Regions from separate parts of the Homo sapiens genome. Here regions 2 and 3 are each linked to region 1. The links are contacts of gene promoters, found by promoter capture Hi-C in blood cells and fetal thymus (Javierre and others, 2016). All regions are on one chromosome and are shown on one strand. Each heading gives the region's core, a stretch centred on a gene start or on the middle of the fragment in contact. The rest is flanking DNA. Distances are from core to core; before and after follow the strand shown. Region 1 holds the start of KCTD21 (potassium channel tetramerization domain containing 21). Region 2 overlaps GAB2 (GRB2 associated binding protein 2). Region 3 overlaps GAB2 (GRB2 associated binding protein 2).

Region 1 (2,820 bases), core at 144-2,643:
TGGGGGTACCAGGCTGCCCCTCCCGACACCAGGTGGTGCCCTCCATCTCTGGCCCCTCAGGTGTCTGAATGGCAGCATCTCTCTAGGTATTTTTTAACTGAACTTCTACCCAAGGCAACCCTGGGAAGAAGTGCTTCACCCTACTCCGGGAGGCCCATGTCTGGGCCACCAAACTGTCTCCTGGAAAGAAAAAGAAAAAAGGGTTTCACTGGTAAAAAGCAGCTGCTCTTCCTCAAAGGATAAGGAGGAGAGAGAAGGGAAGAAAGCAGGAGCAGCTATTCCTCCTCAGGAACCCACCACACACACCTATCCCTGCGGGGCCACCCCTCACAAACCTGTGAGGGCCGCACTCCACCCCAAGCTTTCTGGAAGGAAGGGCACCAAGCTGACACATCAGGGTCTCCGGTTTGCAAGGGCCAGGGCCGTAAGAGGGGGTTGGGGAGGGTATCCCAGGGCCCAGCACACTGAGAATAGGAAAAGCCCATTCCAAGCAATGGTGGCCTCGGGCCCCCCAGTTTGTGCCACCTCCCTCCCTCCAGTGCACCCGCGCCCAGCCCACGCTTGAGCTGGAGGGCCCCACGAAAAGCCAGCAAGCGAATGTACTAGGTACTGGGTGCGAATGCCCTCTTACCTGAAAGGGGAGGGAGCAGGATCACTTCGACATACAATTGATGAAGGGAGGGGATTAATGCCCAGAGAGGAATAGCTACTCGCCCAAGGTCACACAGTGAGGCCCAGGAGGCCCAGGATGCACCCAGATCTCCCGACTCCCAGCCCTGGGCTCGCAAGTCCAGGGTTCTCGAAAGGCCAGGGTGCAGACACCGCCCCCCAAAGACAGTCACACGCCCCCAACCCCCTTACCTCCCGGACCCCGGTGGGCCAGAGCCGGCTGCTGGGCGGGGCGCTCAGGCCGGGCAGGACGAGGCTGGGCCCGGCTAGGTCAGGGCTGGTCCTCTGCTCCCCCCAGGGTGGGGACGCCCTCAGCCAGGTCCCAGACGGAAGAGATGCTGCTTCCACTGCAAAATCCAGTCTTCCCACCCCGCCTGGCACAAGCCTCTATGTATCCAGGAAGCCCGACTCTGCGGCGCGGCCCCGGGGCTGCGGGATGAAGCATGGGGAGGGGCGAGGTGCGTGAAATGGGGCGGAGCCGGAGCGGGGGCCACCCCGCGAGCTGCCACTCTGACCGCGTCCCCTTTAAGGCCAGCCGGCCGGACACCGGCGGGGACGAGGCGGGGCGCAGAGCAACTCGCTGCAATGCCTCCTGGGAGATGGAGTTCGCTCTCGACGCGCCGAGCTGCGAGGAGCCCAGAGAGAACTACCAGTCCCGGAAGGCAGCGCACAGACCCCGGACCGCCACGCCCCTGGGCTGGGCTCCTACCCTCCGCCCCCCTCGCAAAGCTGCGCTGGCCGCTCGCGGAGGGAGAGGCTGCAGAGCGAGGGCAGGAGGTGGGTGCGGCACGGCCGGGGTCGCGGGGCTCGGGGACTACCGGCGAGGGTACGTGGGCCCACTGAGCACCTGTCTTACCATGAGACTAATCTATCCCAGCCTCGCCATTCCCATCTGTGAAATGGGGATGGCATCGCCTGTGGTGCGGGGGAGGGGGCGCGTTTCGGAGCGAGGTGAGCCGAAGTGGGCAGAGCTCTTAGAGGGGCGGGGCTGTTGGGAGAGCAAGGGCGGATGGTGATAGTCGGAAAAGCCCGGATAATGAGGGTCGGGACTGTGGGAGGAGTCCTTGGTGGGTGGGGCAAGGAGAGGCGGGATCTCTAGGTGGGGGTGGGGCACTTGTCAGGTCGGAGTGGGGGCTGTAGGGCTGGGGAGTGGGTGCGGAACAAGCCGATGAGGCCAGCCTGGGTGAGATTGGGGAAGGAAGGGCGGAGACACAGATGACAGGGAACTTGCCCCGCTCTGGAGAGCCCTGGGCCGGCCGCGCTGTGGCGGCGTGGGCAAAAGCCTGTGATGCATAGAACACCTCCCTTTACTGACTGGAAATAAAGAGTCCATCCCCGAGTTCAGTGCGGCACACCAGTGATCTCATTGACCTCCCACGCCCTGAAAAGTAGAGGCGTCACTATAGCGGTTGACAGGTGAGGAATGTGAGGCTCAGAAAAGCGAAGGGACTTGCCTAAAACCACTCAGGACTCCTTACTTCAAAGACCTTGCTTTTCTCCCTGCACTCGGGGAGGCAGAGGTTTAGCTTGGCGTGGGAGGCAGGAAAGAAAAGTTTTGATGCCCCGACCTTCGCAAATTGTCTGGCAGGACCAGTCCCCCCAACCCTTCCGAATGACAGCCTGTAAGGCAGCCCTCCTATAGTACTGTGAGGATGAAATGAGATGGATTTGAAAGCACGGTGTTTATAAATTACTGTTTGGAGGAGACATAGGAAGAGAGCGGTTTGAAATGGGGTGCTGGTGCCGGAGGAAAAGCACAAGGTGAAGCGTGAGAGTGAGCCGAGAAGGTGAAGGAAAGTTCTGGAAGGGGCTGGGGGATGGTAGTGGTTGTTGGAGGTCTACGCCAGATGAAAGAATACCTTGCCGTGCCAGATTCCGTGGTCTCCTTCTTCCAGCCCACCTTTCTCTCCTCCTGCCTTTTGCGCAGCTCATTCTGGGGTCCCTGTGTCTAGGAAGCACCTTTTCTCTCCTCCCTATGGGTTGTGATGGTAATAGAGCAGCCTTCGGATTTCTTAGAGATATGGACTGGGCAAGACAGAATTATAGACGCAGCTCTTTGATGTGGGGTGGTCAGGAAGAGGAGGTGAAGAAAGGGTAGTCGTCCTAGGGGCTTCAAGGCAAAGAGTCCTTTCTCCGGTGGGGTAAGGTGGG
Region 2 (2,749 bases), core at 58-2,557, 140 kb before region 1:
ATGATCGCACCACTGCCCTCCAGCCTGAGTGACAGAGCGAGACTTTTTCTCTAAAAATAAAAAATAAAAAAAGTCACCAAAAGATCTTTGGACTCAAATTATTCATTATAATCCTAGAAGAAGGACTTATCAGTATGTGTATTATTGGAAGATGGTTAGTGATAAGATTTTCCTTTGTAATTGGAGCCCAGTATTTCCGGGTGAAGACTGTAAAGCACTGGATCAAGAGTATACTGATGGTACCACATGTCCCAGGCAGGCTCTGAAACAAAGCCCAGCATTATCCTCCTCCTTCTGTCATTTGAAGGACCATCTTTCCCATTAAATTATAAGAGATTCTTGATCTGCTATAGGGGATACACCAGTGTTGGGGCTCAATAAATATTTGGCAAAATTAGGCTCTGCAGGTATAAGACAAGGCAAAGGGGAAGGTTCTTAAAAAAACAAAAACTATATCTTCAAATTTCTGCTCAGACTCTAGGGCATGAGGGAACTCCATGTGCCTGCTTCTTCCTCTAAGCACCTAGAAAGGTTCTTTCTCAAAGTCAATAAACAACACTTCTTAATAGTTACTTTTTGGTCTCCTAAATGTTACTTTTTAGTTTCCCTACTGTTCAAGCCAGAGCTATGATTTGTCATTACTCACATATGCCTTCAAGTGCAGATAAATTTCCTGCATGCCATTGCTACCTCTTGCTGCATCCCATTAGACTCTTACTTAAGTTGTGAGGTTTATTTTTTGATAACCAAAATTCACTTAAACATAGGATGTCATTTGTACTACTGATCCGTTTCTCTCATCATTTGAGTCAGGATATGTGTGTAGGACACTGGGGCTTTTACCTTCTTTTTGTGCTATCATAGCTTATATGAATAGAAAGCTCAGACACAGTGAGGACTTGATCAATATTGAAAGGAAATTTAAATCATACCAGGTACCCTATAAGCTTCTCCCCCAGGCAAATAAAGCCAGTGTTAAGTTGATCTCCCTAGGTTGGTGGGCAGGGAAAGTCCCAAGCCTGGTGGCTTCCTCAGTCACTTCTTTAAAAACCAGGGGCCTCACCACTGGTTTCCAATAGCCTGTGTATTTTTAGTCCTGCTTTTCATGTAAGTTTCCCATTAACTGCTTGCAGGAAATCTTTTCTTGGACATAATCTGCCCATTTCCTGAAGTCTTCCTCCCGCCTTGTGTCAGTTTGGGGATGAATCAAGTCAGCAGTTTTGGAGGGGGTTTGTTCTGTTCCCCGCCACAGGCTCCCCACTTTGTAGAGTACCAGAAAGCTGCCTTTCTTGTCTTTTCCTAGAGGCAAAGGGAGGAGGGGCAAGCCCTTGGTGTGTGTCTGCCTCTTGGGTTGCCCAACACAAATGCCCTTTTGTGTGTGGAGGGGGCATGTGTGTTTTTTTTCCCCTTCCCAATGGACACTTTCATTTACGAGGTCCGGATGGTGTCCTCTGGGCTATAAACAATGGCATAGGAGATAAAGAGCTGCCTTAGTGACCAGGCTGTGGTGGCAGCCACTGGTTTTCCATCTGTGTCTCTGTTTTCCAATCCCCTTGGTCTATTGTGAGTTTGGTCTGATCTGAGCCAGCCTGGGACCTCTGTAATCCCTTTCTAGGCCCAGAGCAGCGTGGGCACTATTCCTCTTATCCTGAGGACTTCAAGCTTAGAGAAAGAGGTTTTCTGTGGTAAGGATAGCAACTCCTCATGTTTGCACAATGTGTTTAAACACATTATATCTTTTGGAGAACTGAAATTCTGGATTTGTTATCCCTTAAGAATGGAGGATTCGGGGCTGGGCGCAGTGGCTCACGCCTGTAATCCCAGCACTTTGGGAGGCCAAGGCAGGCAGATCAGGAGGTCAGAAGATCGAGACCCTCCTGGCCAACATGGTAAAACCCCGTCTCTACTAAAAATACAAAAAATTAGCTGGGTGTGGTGGTGCATAACTGTAGTCCCAGCTACTGGGGAGGCTGAGGCAGGGGAATCGCTTGAACCTGGGAGGCAGAGATTGCAGTGAGCCGAGATTGTGCCACTGCACTCCAGCCTGGCAACAGAGCGAGACTCCATCTCAAAAAAAAAAAAAAAAGAATGGAGAATTTGGATCAAAAGAGTTGGAGTGCTGGTCCTGCTATTTATTTATTTTATTTTTATTTATTTTTTGAGACGGTGTCTGTCTCTGTCACCCAGGCTGGAGTGCAGTGGCGCGATTTCGGCTGACTGCAACCTCCACCTCCCGGGTTCATGCAATTGTCCCGCCTCAGCCTCCCGAGTAGCTGGGATTACAGGTGCCCACCACCATGCCCTGGTAATTTTTGTATTTTTTAGAAGAGACAGGGTTTTACCATGTTGGCCAGTCTGGTCTCGAACTCCTGACCTCAAATGATCTGCCCACCTCAGCCTCCCAAAGTGCTGGGGTTACAGCCATGAGCCATTGCACCTAGCCTGGTTCTACTATTAATAACTGTGAGATCTCAGGCAAATTCTAGAACTAATACCTTTCTACTTCATAGGGTGTTCCACAGTTCCATTAAGAAAATACGTTATGGGAAGAAAAATATTTCCATTAAGAAAATAACATATGGGAAGCACCCAAATGTTAACCAAAAAAGGAGGGGGTGGGAAGAGGAAATGTACAATGAGACAATATAAATGAATACGCTATGCATAAGATGCTAAGTATATAGTCACTATTTGGTTTTAGAGGTCTAAGAGTAAGCCTTTTCTCCAGATAAATCTACCCCTTCACCTG
Region 3 (2,809 bases), core at 214-2,713, 160 kb before region 1:
ACTTGGCAGAGCATAGTTTGGGGAGGAGGCTTTAGTTCAATGAGCACAAAAGCACATGTTCCTGTGGTGAATTCTTAACGTGTGTGAAGGGGAAGCAAAGGAGCTTTAGTAAAATTGCAGTTCAGGCTAAGTCAGGAATGGAAATGAGGAACAACCAGAAAACATCACAGTTTGTTTTAGAGCATTTAGTTCCTAACTCTCAATGACACACACTCAGGCTTATGGCTGAATTTCAGATTATCCTTGTATATACTTTTTAGAAGTTTTTATTTGGTATCATAATTTATAGTGTAACAATGAAAAGTCGCCTGGCTTTATAACAGATTTCAGAAAGTGAAACTTGGTTTCTGAGGAATAAACAGGCAGCAGAGCAATCCTCAAAGAGGAAGTGCATGAGAAACTGAGGGTTTAGGGAGATTATATTTGGTTAGAAACGCTGGGCCTTTGTTAAAAGTTGAAAAACCTGATCACTCCAGTCTTTGGAGGTTCTGAGGGAGAGCATGTCTTGCCAGAGTCTCACGGATGATTAGAGTTAATCCCGGCACCCAGGCCTCTTTACTTTTCCTCTGCAGTGTGGGTTCCCCTCCTGAGCTACCCGCTAGAGCCTAGTTTCCCAGGGTTTCTCTCTCTGGTCTGTTTTTGCAGCTCAAGCCATGTTCTCCTTGATCTGTTGGCCAGGCTTCAGGGGAGATGGACTACAGCTGGTCTGAAATAGGAAGACGGTAAATTTACTTAAACTTTCAGCATGACCCATTTGCCTAACTTTTTTTTCAATGTGATGAATGAAAATATAGACAACAGAATGTTTCACAAGACAGCCAACTCAAAGAGAATAAGAATGAGGACGTGTGCAATTTGCTTTTACCTTTAAAAAGAAGCATATTACAGAACCTCTTGATTGTCTTTCTTTTTTTTTTCTTTTTTTCTTTTTTTTACCTCTGTCATCTGTGATCCATTCGCCTGTTCAGCCAAGATATTTTGGCATTTTTACTCTGGGAAACCAGTGGGTGGGTGAACATGGAGGAGCCAAAAGTTAACAAAATACCAGCAAATGCTGGAGCCAAGTGAGAGGATTCTCCTCTGCTCCAGAAGCAGAGGTGTACCCCACCTCCCACTCTCCCAAGCTGCTTTGAAAAAGGCTGCTAAAACTCACCGACTTAAAAAAAATTTTTTAAAAGAAAAAAAACTCCCTGACTTGAGAGGATTTCTCAGTCCTGATGAAGGAAATCTCTAGCAGCTCTTCTTGTCCCTAGGCTATCAGGGCTTTTCCTTTCTGAGGATGCCCTAAGCACTGTAGGGAATAATAGCATTCGAAGGTAAGTTTATCTGGTCTGATGCCAGCATACATTGTTGAATCCAAATCTACCATTTACCATCGGGGTGACTTTCAATGAGTTCTTTAAACTTTCTGAGCCTGTTGTCTCATCTGTAATAGAGATAATAGTGCCTACCTCATCAAAAGTGTTAGAATTAAGTAAGATGATTTGTAACTTAGTACCAGACACCTCATTAATAATCAAATGTTTTTTGCAATACCACTCATTTTCTCACCAACTTCTATACAGCTTCCTGTTTTCCCAGTGATCGTGAGATATGGGAGGTAGTAGCTTGCTAACTTGTTTCCAGTGGCAGCAGGAGTGGCAAAGGAAATTACTTTTTTCCTTATCAACTTCAAAGGATAATTTACACACAGTGAACTATATCTGTGTACATTTAATGAGTCTCATAGGTGTCTGTCCGTACTCATGAAACAAGTACTACATTGAAGATGTAGAACATTGGCATCATCCCCAAAAGATTCCTCTTGCCCCTTTGCAGTCTTTCCCTTCCTTTGCCCTTAGCCCCAGGCAAGCACTCCTCTGTTCTTTGTCACTCTAAATTAGTTTGCATTTTATAGGAGTACAGTATGTACACTTTTTGTGCAGCTTATTTCACTCAGCATAGTGATTTCTGGATGTGTCCATGTTGTTGCATGTATCCATGTTATTGCTGAGTAGTATTCCATTGTGTGGATATACCACCTATTGATGGACATTGGGTTCTTTCTTGTTTCTGGCTCTTTTAAATAAAGCTGATATGAACATTCACTTGGAAATCTTTCTGTGGAGCATACATTTTCATTTCTCCCAGGTATACCCAGCAGTTGAATGGCTCAGTCATATGGTAGATACGTGTTAAACTTTTTGAGAAACTTCCAAACTGTATTGTTTTACTTTCCTATCAACAGTGTATGTGATTTCCAGTTGCTTTACAATCTCAGAAGCACTTAGTGTGATCAGCCTTTTTAATTTTAGTCATTCTAATGGGTTTATAGGTCATGGTATTCATTGTGGTTTTCATTTGTTTCCCTGATGTCTAGTGATGTTGAGCACCATGTGCCAACTGGCATTTTGTATACTATCTTCTTTTGTCTAGTATCTGTTCAAATCTTTTGCCCATTTAAAAAATTGTGTCATTTATCTTCTTACTGAGTTGTACAAGTTCCTTTTATGATCTGGATACCAGTTCTTTGTAAGATAGAAATATATTAAACATTTCCTTCAATCTGTGAAAACATGTGAATACAACTGATCCTTGAACAAAATGGGCTTGAACTGCATGGGTCCATTTATACTTGGATTCTTTTCAGTAAAAGTGACACTGAGTGTGCTTGCCTCTCCTGCCTCCCCTTCCTCCCCTTCTACCTCTTCTGCTTCTGTCACTGCTGAGACAGCAAGTCTAACCTCTTCTTTTCCTCTTTCTCCTCAGCCTACTCAATGTCAAGATGAAGATAAAGACCTTTATGATGATCCACTTCCACTTAATCAAT

Evidence for each region. Contacts are between HindIII fragments. The CHiCAGO score rates a contact against its expected background, and 5 or more counts as called.
Region 2: a fragment that was not itself captured here is called in contact with the fragment with the promoter of KCTD21 in region 1 in 7 of 17 cell types (non-activated CD4 T cells, naive CD4 T cells, activated CD4 T cells and 4 more); the score reaches 7.6 in non-activated CD4 T cells.
Region 3: a fragment that was not itself captured here is called in contact with the fragment with the promoter of KCTD21 in region 1 in 15 of 17 cell types (activated CD4 T cells, fetal thymus, non-activated CD4 T cells and 12 more); the score reaches 10.5 in activated CD4 T cells.

The regions. Positions count from the first base shown.
Region 1 is chr11:78,187,199-78,190,018 of GRCh38, reverse strand. It overlaps KCTD21 (potassium channel tetramerization domain containing 21), which reads left to right and starts at 1,393. Exons shown (of 2, transcript NM_001029859.3): 1 at 1,393-1,446. USP35 (ubiquitin specific peptidase 35) reads right to left here and starts at 1,100. Exons shown (of 11, transcript NM_020798.4): 1 at 862-1,100. RefSeq lists silencers at 747-906, 1,337-1,676. The HindIII fragment of the contact is 4,363 bases long and covers 364-2,820 here.
Region 2 is chr11:78,330,586-78,333,334 of GRCh38, reverse strand. The region is part of intron 1 of GAB2 (GRB2 associated binding protein 2); the gene reads left to right. Among named protein-coding and RNA genes, the nearest start is that of GAB2, 86 kb to the left of the region's middle. RefSeq lists an enhancer at 763-812. The HindIII fragment of the contact is 715 bases long and covers 950-1,664 here.
Region 3 is chr11:78,348,048-78,350,856 of GRCh38, reverse strand. All of the region lies in intron 1 of GAB2 (GRB2 associated binding protein 2), which reads left to right. Among named protein-coding and RNA genes, the nearest start is that of GAB2, 68 kb to the left of the region's middle. The HindIII fragment of the contact is 3,231 bases long and covers 1-2,809 here.